Linked DNA regions of Homo sapiens: region 2 is linked to region 1. The links are contacts of gene promoters, found by promoter capture Hi-C in human tissues and cell types (Jung and others, 2019). All regions are on one chromosome and are shown on one strand. Each heading gives the region's core, a stretch centred on a gene start or on the middle of the fragment in contact. The rest is flanking DNA. Distances are from core to core; before and after follow the strand shown.

What was found. The method cuts DNA at HindIII sites, captures the fragments that hold promoters and counts their contacts. A contact is called where the count stands out against the background at its distance.
Region 2: a contact is called between a fragment that was not itself captured here and the fragment with the promoter of ARHGAP17 in region 1, in 1 of the 25 tissues and cell types used here (dorsolateral prefrontal cortex).

The regions. Positions count from the first base shown.
Region 1 is chr16:25,011,228-25,016,855 of GRCh38, forward strand. It overlaps ARHGAP17 (Rho GTPase activating protein 17), which reads right to left and starts at 4,142. Exons shown (of 20, transcript NM_001006634.3): 1 at 3,982-4,142. The coding sequence starts at 4,034. It also overlaps the pseudogene LOC100421171. RefSeq lists enhancers at 3,030-3,698, 3,699-4,367 and silencers at 3,681-3,730, 3,791-3,840, 3,901-3,950, 4,031-4,280. The HindIII fragment of the contact is 28,450 bases long and covers 1-5,628 here.
Region 2 is chr16:23,140,461-23,146,470 of GRCh38, forward strand. The region is part of intron 1 of USP31 (ubiquitin specific peptidase 31); the gene reads right to left. Among named protein-coding and RNA genes, the nearest start is that of USP31, 6.0 kb to the right of the region's middle. The HindIII fragment of the contact is 4,155 bases long and covers 1-4,083 here.

The sequences.
Region 1 (5,628 bases), core at 2,892-5,391:
CACTCTCAGTCCATATGGTTTGGGTGCGCTGACTCCAGTCCATTTCTGGGGAAAGGCATGTGACCCAGAAGCATTCAGAGCCAATCCTGGGACTCGGGCCACAGTGACTGCGAGATGAGTATTCTTTCCCTCTGAGACTTGGAAGATGTGGAAGTCTCCCAGTGGACACAGTGCCTACCTAAAGAGTGGAACCGAGGCCAGGCGCAGTGGCTCATGCCTGTAATCCCAGCACTTTGGGAGGCCAAGGTGGGCAGATCATCTGAGGGCAGGAGTTTGAGACCAGCCTGGCCAACATGGCAAAACCACATCTCTACTGAAAATACAAAAATCAGTCGGGCATGGTGGTACAGGCCTGTAGTCCCAGCTACTTGGGAGGCTGAGACGGGAGAATTGCTTGAACCTAGGAGGTGGAGGCTGCAGTGAGCCGCGCCACTACACTCCAACCTGGGTGACAGAGCCAGACTCCGTCTCAAAAAAAAAAAAAAAGAGTGGAACCCCCAGAAGAAGCCAAATCTGCAGCCACACTACTTATTAGAGGCTCTTTTGGTCACTTATGAGCCAATCAATTCCCGTCTTTGCTATGAACTGGGTTTTCTTACAACCAAAAGAGACCTAATCAATACAAGAGATATTTGAAATAAGGGCTTGAAAATGAAGGCAGAGAAAGGTGCTCAGATTTTCTCCTCTGGGAAGCTTTTGTTACCTCCCTCAATCCAATGACAGCTGGGTTTTGCTCTGTGCATTAGCCATCCCTCTTAAGCACTTATCTCATGTATATAATTATTTTTTGCCTGCCTACCTCTTCCACGTATCTCCTGAGCTCCCTCAGGGCAGAAACCATGCCCGTATTCACCTTTGATTCTTTAATACCCTGGATAACAGGACACAGTGTAGGCTCAACAAGTGTCTGTTGAATGCATGAATCAACAAAAGGCAGGTGGACTAAAAGAACCATCCTACTTCTCTTCTTTGGGACACTCACACCATGAGACCACCTCATAAGCCTTGCCCCTGTGAGTTTCAGGCCGTCTTCTCAAATAGACTTACCCACCCATCGTAAACAAACTGCATCATGCGAACTCATTCCTTCCAGGCATTACTAATTCTCTACAAGTCCCTCCCCTGGAACCTTACAGTGAAAGTACTCAAAGGTCTCCCTTCTGAGGAGAATATCTCACTGCAAGACACCACCTAGAATTCCACAAATTGATAAACCAAAACACGATGGGCATGACATTCACATATATAACTTCCTTCTCCACCTAGATCGCAGGGGCGAAAACAAAAAAACCCTTTGCTTTGTAGCCTTCATCTTGACCTAAAAACACCCAGAATCCTGATTCTGGGGCCAACCAACCACCTACTTCCAAGCAGTAACAATTCTAGGCACTCTCCAGCCTCCGTTTATCTTCCTTAGTCCTTTCTGATTACTTAAGCAGAAAACACATACACACACACATCTAGGAAATCAACAGCAAGGAAGCAACAGGTTTCCCAGTTAAAAACAGATGTTCTGACTTTGGGTGCATAATTGCCACACCCTTAATAGTTCTGTAATAGCTTCAGCTTCCACTGGCATCTAGCAATAAAGATTTTTAAAGACAGTCAAAGGTCAGGCCCAGAATTACAGCTCCAGCATGAATCACCATCTACTCTATCCACTTCATGTTTTCCCATACTCGGGCCCACACCACCAAGGCGATCTAGTAAGAACTCAAATACCAGAATTAACAATGTCTACTGCACCCTGGCCATGGGGTAGGAACCACAGCAGACCCTGGGAATCAAAGGAGACACAGCAAGGACTCTCAAGGTATTTATCTGATGGAGAACACACACAAGAGGCAGTCACAGCACAGAAAAGCAAGTGCTACACAGGATTACAAGAACGCCCAGGAGAGGCATCCAATCTATGCTGTAGCATCATAGAAGGCCTTTCAGAGGCAGAGGGACCTTTCCCAGAAGGCTGAAGAATGAGCAAGAGGTGCCTGGAGAAAAGGTGTGGTGGGAGAGGCTTCCAGGAGTTCCAAGTAGATGCTAGCAGGTAAGAAAGCAAGACCTCCTGTGGAAACTGAAGGTAGGCAAGCATGGCCGGAATTTTAAAATGTGAAGGTGCCAGGCAAGGTGGCTCACGCTTGTAGTCCCAGAACTTTGGGAGGCCAAGGCAGGCAGATCAGTTGAGGCCAGGAGTTCGAGACCACCCTAGGCAACATGGCAAATCCCCACTCTACAAAAAATACAAAAATTAGCGGATGTGGTGGTGCCCACCTGTAGTTCCAACCACATAGGTGGCTGAGGCGAGAGGGTCGCTTGAGCCCAGGGAAGTCAAGGCTGCAATGAGACAAGATCGCACCACTGCACCCCAGCTTGGGTGACAAAGGGAGACCCTGTCTCAAAAAAAAAAAAAAGTGTGAAGGGAGAAGCCTCTAAGATGACCCAGGAGTCAAAGAGACCCTAAATAGCTTGGTAGATTTAAGTCTCAGAACTTTGTATAAAAAGAGTGAAAGTCCCTTACCTGTCACGAACAATGTAAAAACAAGCCAAACGACTATTTGACAAATGTATCTTGGCACTTACTAAATACTAGTTCCACAATGCACGTTGCTCAGAACACTAACAAGGGTACGAAACTCACAAGAAATTATCATGTGCTTGTAAACTGTTCCTTGAAACATCAGCCGCCATTACCACACGTCTACCTTCCTCTCAGCATTATTTCTTTAATTTTCCTGCAAATAACAGAAAAGTAGGTTTGTCTGGGCTTTAGGGGCAGCGATTAACCCTGAAAATAAGAGTTAATTCTCACCACAATAATACGGTAGGGAATCGAAAAAATTAAACAAGGAAACTAAGCAAAAAGATGGAGGAAATGAAACAGTAAAAAGCAAATTTAGAAAACTCGAGAGGAAGTAAAAGTATTTTCATACACTCAAAAAAAAGAAGTGTCCCACGTGCTTCAGCCAAACCAAACTCCCCTTAACTGTTAAAAACAGAAAATCAAAAGAAGAGCTGTGAGAAATTCATACTTTCGTATCTCTTTGCTGAATAAACACTAAATCGGTACAGTACAGCCAGCTGCCCTGAAAGACCTTGAAATATTAGCCCCAGATAATACAGCACATGACAGTCACCTCCAGAAACTCTCAAAAACCACAAATCATTTCTTGTTCTGACAACCTGATCTACCAACTCTGGTCTAGCCTGCCATTTAATAATCAATAACGTTTCTTGTTAAGCACTTCAACCGTAGCAAAGGAAGATAAAGAAGCATTTGTTTCCAAACCTAAGGTGAGACTTTTTAAATTGGCGCAAGGCGTCTCCATAATCCTTTTCCGCCAATTCCTAATTTCTAAATGTCAAGAACTGGCAGCAGCAGTCCAGTTCCTAGGAGCCCTGGTTTTGAGACAGCACCACCTCCGAATTCCCTCAAAGGGCGTTCTGAACTCACTGAGCAAATCCGGCTGGCTTTCATGTCCCTCTAGCCATTTCTTGCCGCCATGCACTTACAGGAGAAGGACTCGCAAACAGCGGGAGCACCGGGAAAGCCTGGGACTGCCGCCCCCCACAGCACAGCGCTCGGCACAGCGTTAGGGACAGAAGTCACCGTTGTTGAGCCCAGGGCAGCGATCCCAGCTGGCTCGGCCCCCGGGAAGGGAGGAGAAGGACCGGGTCTACTCCCCGAGGGCGATGCTCCCGGGGCAGGGACAATGGGCAGGGGACCCCGCGGTGTGGCGGAGGAGGCGGCGGCCCTCCCCTGCAGGTCTCGGGAGCCCGGCGGCGCTGAGAGACAGGCGGGCCGCCTGGAGCGCGGCGCTCGGGCCTCAGCGCGGCGCAGCCCCCGGGCCCGTGCCCCGCTGGTCTCGGGCAGGGGCTGCGGCCCAGCTCAGAGCCGCCGGACCGCGGAGGAGCCGTCCCGCCCCCGCGCCCTCCGCCCTCCGCCCCCAGCCCCGGTGCGACCCCCGTGCTGCCCGGCGCACTCGCCTGCCCACGGTCTGGTTAGCCAGCTGCTTCATGCGGTTGAACTGCTTCTTCATGGCGGCGGTGGCGGCGGCGGCCCGCGGGGCTCGGGCCGGGCAGGGCGGGGGACAGCCTGGCAGCTACTACATCGCTTCCCGGCCCAAACGGCGGCGCGGCGGTGGCTCCCCGGGCCGGCGGCCCCGCCCTCGCCTCGTCACTTCCAGTGGCACCGCCCGCCCGCCCTCTAGGTCTGGCCGAGCCGAGCTGAGCCCGAGTAGAGCCGAGTCGAACCGAGCCGAGGCTAACAGTGCCTTACCTGACACGGGCGAAGAGCTAGAAGGCCCCGGGCGAGAAGACCACTAGGCCTCCTCCGCCTGGCCTCCCCGACCCCAACGCTGCCCGGTCACCCTCTCGTTTATTTCAACGTATGAAAAGCTGTTTCTAGCAGGGCGCAGTGGTTCAACGTTGTAATCTCAGCACTTTGGGAGGCCGAGGGGGCAGATCACTTGAGCTCGGGAGTTCGAGAGCAGCCTGGCCAACACGGTGAAATCCTGTCTCTACTAACAATACAAATTTAGCTGGGCGTGGTGGTGGACGCCTGTAATCCCAGCTACTCAGGAGGCTGAAGCAGGAGAACGGCTTTTACCCGAAAGGCAGAGGTTGCAGTGAGCCGAGATGGCGCCACTGCACTCCAGCCTGGGCAACAGAGTGAGAGACCCTGTCTCGAAAAAAAAAAAAAAAAAAAAAATTAAAGTCAATGTGTGTTTTCCTTAACACACGTGCTCACACACTCATGTCTTCCTGGTTTGGTGGCCTTGGCTCCAGGTAAGCCCCTTCTTTGCATTGGATGGGCAGCAATGTGGCTTCTTTCATCAGCCACATCTCAAATGTGCTCCTAAATGTCATAGAAAAAGGAAAGAGCTCCCTAACTATGGGATAAAGGAGACTGATGCCAGTTTGGAATTCTTAATATCAAAGAATGAGGGACTTCAAGATCTTTTTAGTGACCTAGGAGAGACCTAGGAAGCATCAGAGCTTCAGATAGGGCAGCAAACTAAAAGTTATCGACATCAATTACAACAGAAAGAGGTAGAAATGAGCCTTCCTAAAACAAGAAAGCAAGCACTACAGGATCGGTTGCAGGACCGGCAGCCAGCCCTGGAGTCAGCACATTCAGGGAAGGCCGGAGGTTCCCATCCACACTGCATCCCCTCCATTCCATGTGGTACCCATCATGCTTCAGTGTTCCACGACGCTTACATGGGTTTTTATGACATAATTTCATCATAACAAGAAATAAACAGATAGTCCAATGAAGTTCTAAAACTTGAGTCTCCAGTTGGCCATTGGAAATGTATTGCTCAGACTTATAAAATAGGAGGAACAACTAGTTTTGATGAAAATGAAATCTACAAACTACAAACACCAAATATTAATATCATCAAGGAGCTCAAACAAAAAAGAAGTCAGGATACTGATGACCATCAGCTTGAATTATCAGTATTACAGAATGTTCATCAACAGAAATTGAGGGAAATAAGTTGTAAGCATCAAGAAAATCTAAGCAATTAGGAAGAAAAGATTGAAGAACTGGAAAATTTGTTACAGCAAGGTGGCTCAGGAATTACAGTACATGATCTCTCTAAACTTCAAGAGAAGGAAAACACTATT
Region 2 (6,010 bases), core at 756-3,255, 1.9 Mb before region 1:
GCCAAGGCCGAGAATCTGCTCCAAATCAAGGCTCTCTGTCCCCAGACCATGCTATATCTATACCTCTGCTCAGAATATTTCCCTAGCAACTTAGAATGTCGTCTCTCTTCCCCTTAACTATCAATGTTTTATTTATCTTCAAATCCCATTCTAAGTCTATAGCCCATGGCTTTAAATACCATCCAGTGGTGACGCCTCCAAAATGTTTATCTTATCTTCTGAGTTCCTTACCCAGCTGCCTACTAGACATCTCCTGAGTGTACTATTTAACATATCTGAACCTGAATTCCTGACTCCCCCAAAACTCCTTCTCCTCAAATAGGTATACAGCCCCAGCAATCACCCAGTTGCTCAGGAAAACAGGTGGGAGTTATTCTGGATGCTCTCCTCAACGTTCTCTGCTCCAGTGTCTTGCCACAAATCAATCCATTAGCAAGTTCTGTCAAGAGTCTACCTCCAGACACATCTTAAATCCATCCACTTCTCCACCTCCCTCCACCATCCCTTTTACCCAGTCCATCACAAAAGCCTCCTGACTGGTCTCTGCCTCCATTCTACTCACTATTCAGTGCCCAGAATAACCACTTCACATTTTCACAAGATCATACCAGGACTCTGTTTAAAGCCTATAACAGCCCCCATGACTCTTGGAATAAAATCTAAACCCCTTACCTTGGTCTGTAAGGCACTATAGCTACACAAGGCAGACTCGGCCTCTGCCTACCTGGCCCCTGCCTCTCCACCTCCTCCATCCCGCTCTCCTCCTGGCTCTCTAGCTGCAAACAAGATCTGTCAGACTTTCAAGTGTACCCTCAGCTCTTTCCAACTATAGCGCCTTCTGCATTTTATTCTTCCTGCCTGGTCACACCCATTATTCCCTCTCATACACCTATCTATTTCTCTTTAGCATTTATACAATAATTTTTTTTTTTTTTTGGACACAGGGTCTCACTCTGTAGCCCAGGCCAGAGGGCAGTGGCACAATCTCGGCTCACCACACCTTGACCTCTTGGCTCAGGTGATCTTCCCACCTCAGCCTCCGAAGTAGCTGGAACCACAGGTGTGTGCCACCACGCCCGGCTAATTTTTGTACTTTTTGGAGAGACAGGGTTTCGCCTGTTGCCCAGGCTGGTCTTGAACTCCTGAGCTCAAGCTATCTGTCTACCACGGCCTCCCAAAGTGCTGGGATTACAGGCACATGCCACCATGTCTGGCCTACTGTAATTTTTAATTTCATATTTACCAGTGTTTATTGAATAATATCTGCCTCCTCTGTGGCAATAAAAGTTCCGTAAAGGAAGGGACCACATGGCCTTTTACAATTTTTTTACCATTATCATATCACTTTGTTTTCCACTATATACAAATGACTTGTACAATATGTGGCATGGAGTTAGAAAATCAAATTTGTAGATGCTTAATTGCTGACAACAAATAAAAGGATGAATAAATGAAATCTTTCTACTTACACTTTCATACACAATGATCTCACCTCTCTCTCAGCTCCCAGTGAACTTTCCTCATCAGTACAACTTAAAACAGCTTCTCTATAAGCAGCTAAGTTCTCTGACGGCATGAACCTAGTCCTATAACCTTTGTACTTAATCCTGTATTCCCAGCCCCTTTACCTAAACTAACAATAACTGTGCAGCAAATGTGATTCAGGTCCAAAATATGGAGTTCATAATTATCCCATGTATTTTTATTCCTCAATTAGTCCTCATGGAAAATTTATTGTAATTCTTACACTTCACTTTTACCAAACTTGGTAAGATGTGGTAAACATCAGCTCAAAGCTTACTGGAGAGAGATCCACATGTGTTGATATACGTGTTGAAACAGTCTGAAAGGAATGTGTTTTAAGAAAGACTTCCAAAAACACCTAAGCCTGAGGAGCAATGGCACAAACGTGAAGCTAGCTGCAGATGACCTTATTTTCACTCCAATTCAGCACCACAGTCTCAGAGGAAAAAATGTTACACGTTTCAGCACGTCCCCTCTGCCCATGTACGTGTTATGTTGAGACCTGTCGTTTCATTGCTTGTACTGATAAGGCCACCCAGGCCCAGGACCCAGTTTGTGCACCAGCAGTGCAGGGGTACACAGAGTTCACAGTCAGTGGAAGTCAGAATTCTGGTTCTGCTCCCTCAACCTCTAGCTAGTGGGTGAACTCAGTTCCCACATCCTGAAAGGCTAGGAACTACTCACACCACATCCAAGTCTGCTTCCAAGTCTAAAACTTCATGATTCTATCAACTTTCTCCCTCAGAGGTGTGGAGCTTTGCTAAAACTCAAGTGATGGCATTTGATGGACCAGAGAACTGACCAGGAAGGGATGTACTTTTTATTTTATACTCTGTCACAAAGCTAAATGTGACCTACACAATTTCATTTTTTCCAAGGGACACCCTGAAGTCAGTGTGCTTTGTGGAAAACACTGAAGTATCAGTATACTAAAGAGCTTGACACTAACAAGAAAAAAACTGTGTACCATGGGTTTGCAGCATAGCACCAGAACCCCCAGCATGAGTGCATGGAAAAGCAGGCTGGGAAACTCAGCAAGTGTGAGCCTCTGATTGCCAGGTTGTTCACCACTAGTCTCTTATACAAGTTTATTCCTTTTGTGACTTGAGAATTCTCACTAATAAATAAGCACCACAAGGCACCAAAGTTCAAGGAAAAAAAAATGGGAGAGAGAATTCTATTCATCAATTACCATTTGTTTCACTGCAAATCTGGAAGGAGTCCCCACAATTCTTTTATCAATAGATCACTCTGTGCTAGCTGTTCTTTGCCAGCACAATTTAAAAACTGCTGCCATAAAATTTATCTTTCTTGCTTGAAAGATGACCATCCATCTTTTTACTTGCTGCAAAACGGCTCTGAGCTCTAAAACTCAGAAAGCATTTGTAAGAATCTGGGGCACCCATGCTCCTATGAAAGCAATAAGCTGATTCCCTTTAAAATGGCATATTATGTATTCAAAGTGATTTATTTACTCTCACTATTTTACTAGGAAAGTGATGCAAGGGTCCTGCCAGTGAAGCCCAAGTTTTACCCTAGTGCTGCTGCAAACACATATACACACTCAGAGACAGAGAAGGAGAAAGAGAGAGGGAGAGGTTGGGGGGGGGGAGAGAGAGAGAAAGAGAGAGCGCGAGAGATAACAAGGTAACCATTTTAAAGGCTGGGGAAGTAAAAGGAAACTTGCGCTGAGTCTCCAAACTTTCCTCCAAACAGTTTCTCAGCCTCAGCACTACTGACACTTTGGGGTGAAAACCCTTTAGTAAGGGGGGCTGTCCTGCACATTGTGTGACATTTAGCAGCATCCCTGGAATCTACCACCACATGCCAGTAGCACCCTGATCCCAGCTGTGACAACCAAGTAGGGTTCCAGACATCGACAAATGTCCCAGGGGGTGGGGGCAGGGTGGGGTGAGGACAGGCAAAAGTGCCCGTGTTGAAAACCAGTGCTCTAAGAGTAGGAAACAAACAAACAAAAAATCTGTGTGAAAAGAGAAAGGATAAAGGTAATGGCTAGAGACATTTTTTACAGCATATCAAGGTTGAGCTAGTCAACTCATTTCATCCTGGGAAATGAAAACCCAACTTTAACAACCATCTAGCCCATCCAAAACCAAAAACCATCTACTTGGCAAGCTCCTAAAACTCAAATCAATGTGGTTAAAAAGGAAGAAAGAACTCTAATTGAAAAACTTACAAAGAAAAGCATTAGTAACTTAAAGTTTTAAGATAATAAAAGCACAAAGACATAGTAAGTGCTTTTCTAACCTCAAGGTAACTATCTCAAGATGGCAAATTGGTTTTATCTCCTCTGCCAACTTCAACTAGGTGGTGGTGGCTGCCTGGAGCCCTTCTAGAACTGAGCAGGATTCTAAGGCTGAATGTGAGCGATGTGAAAGTGAAGAATATCTGAATGAAATAACGATGTCCACCCCAAGCAGGCGAAGCACAGTGAGGTATGCCTCAGGTCCACCTTCTGGTGTTTACCTTTCTTTTTTTTTTTTCCTTTTTTTGAGGCAGAGTCTCACTCTGTCACCCAGGCTGGAGCGCAGTGACATGATCTCTGCTCACTGCAACCTCCACCTCCTGGGTTCAAGAGATTCTCGTGCCTCAGCCTCCCGAGTAGCTGGGATTACAGGTGTGTGCCACCACGCTCGGCTACTTTTTGTATTTTTTTAGTAGAGATGGGGTTTCACCATGTTGTCCAGGCTGGTCTGGAACTATTGGTCTCAAGTGATCCACCCACCTTGGCCTCCCAAAGTGCCGGGATTACAGACATGAGCCACTGCGTCCTGCCTTAGCATTCAACTTTCTTTATATTCAAAATAATACCCATCAAATTTAGCTAAAATAAAACCTTTTTTTAAAAAGTAATCAATTTGCCAGAGTTACCTAACCGGGGGAATAAAAAGGGGAAAAGAATCTAATTATATCACTTCCTTGCTTAAAAATCACCTCTGGATTTTCAACTTGCAGAGGATGAAATCCAAACCAGCATAGCTCACGAAGCCCTTCACAGTGAGTTTCCAACACTCTTCTCCCAGGCTTCCTGCACCCCCACTGCTCTCTATGGTGCAGCCAGCCACTAAATGTCTATTCCCCAAAACCACACGCCCTTTCATGCAACTCCACCACTTCCTTGCCCTGCAAATTTCTATTCATCTTTCAGAACACTGCTCAGGAGCCACCTTTTTGGTAATGCTTTCCTTGTTCCTTGATGCCTGCTATACACAGGATGGTCCTTGAGCCAAAAGCACTGGCATCACCAGGGAGCTTGTTAGAAATGCAGAATCTTGGGCACCGCTCCAGCTCTACCGAATCTCAATTTCCTTTGTAGCAAGATCCCCAGGTGAATTATGTGCACACTGACGCATGAGAAGCGCTGTCTCAGGGAACTTCCTAGATCCTACTCGACTCAGCTCTTCATAGCTCCCTGGGAGGTAAACCCCTCCTTTACTCATCTCCTCTGTGAAGACAGGAAAACCCAAATGCCCACCCTCCAGCCTCCGTGACAGCCAATTGACATGGTTATAGCCAATGAAATATCAGCAGAAGCCTGCTGAGGGGGCTTCTGGAAGAATTTTTATTTCCCTAATGACTTCCTGCCGTCCTGGGTAGAATGCCAGGTGCAGTGGCTGCCATCACTGGACAACCATGAGGTGACAAACCTAAGAACAAAAAGCCAATGATAGCTAAAAAGACAACAGGTGGAAATACAGAAATGGTCTGAATCCTTGTTGGGCCCAACGAGCCACTGAACCATAGAACCATCCACCTCCGGAATCACTGTGTGTGCCAATTGCCAATTGCAACGTTTTCATTGCTTAAGGCACTATCATTAGGGATTTTCCTTTCTTGGGCTGAAGGCATTCCTAACTGATTAAGTAAGCCTTCAATAAATGGGAGGTGAATGAATGAATGTAGAGTGAAACCTACTAAAGGTTCAGGAGATTACTTTTAAAAAGCCAGGCCTCTAAGAATCTGTTCATGTCTGCCAAAGCATGCCTATAAATCAGTCTCTGTACTTCTAGAATTATTGACCCATTTCTGTTCACAGCTTAATGGATAAAAAAGTGAACACAAACTCATAAAAAGCAATGGAAATGTTCACATACAAAGATGCTGTAGAAACTGATTTTCACATTTTGGAAAAGAGGAGAAAACCAAACTTAAATACTAGGCTCTGACCTCGAAAAGTTTACAAATGCTGTGGCTACTTACAGGCAATTGTAAGCAAAGAGGGGCAGTGTGGGGTGGGGGGCGGGGGGTGGACCTACAGTAGTCAGTTCTCCTGATCATTCTCCCTTTCTAATTTTGAGATCTCAGCTGGGCACGGTGGCTCACGCCTGTAATCTCAGCACTTGGGGAGGCCGAGGCAGGTGGATCAAAAATTAACTGGGCATGTAGCGGGCGCCTGTAGTCCCAGCTACCTGGGAGGCTGAGACAGGAGAATTGCTTGATTGAACACAGGAGGCAGAGGTTGCAG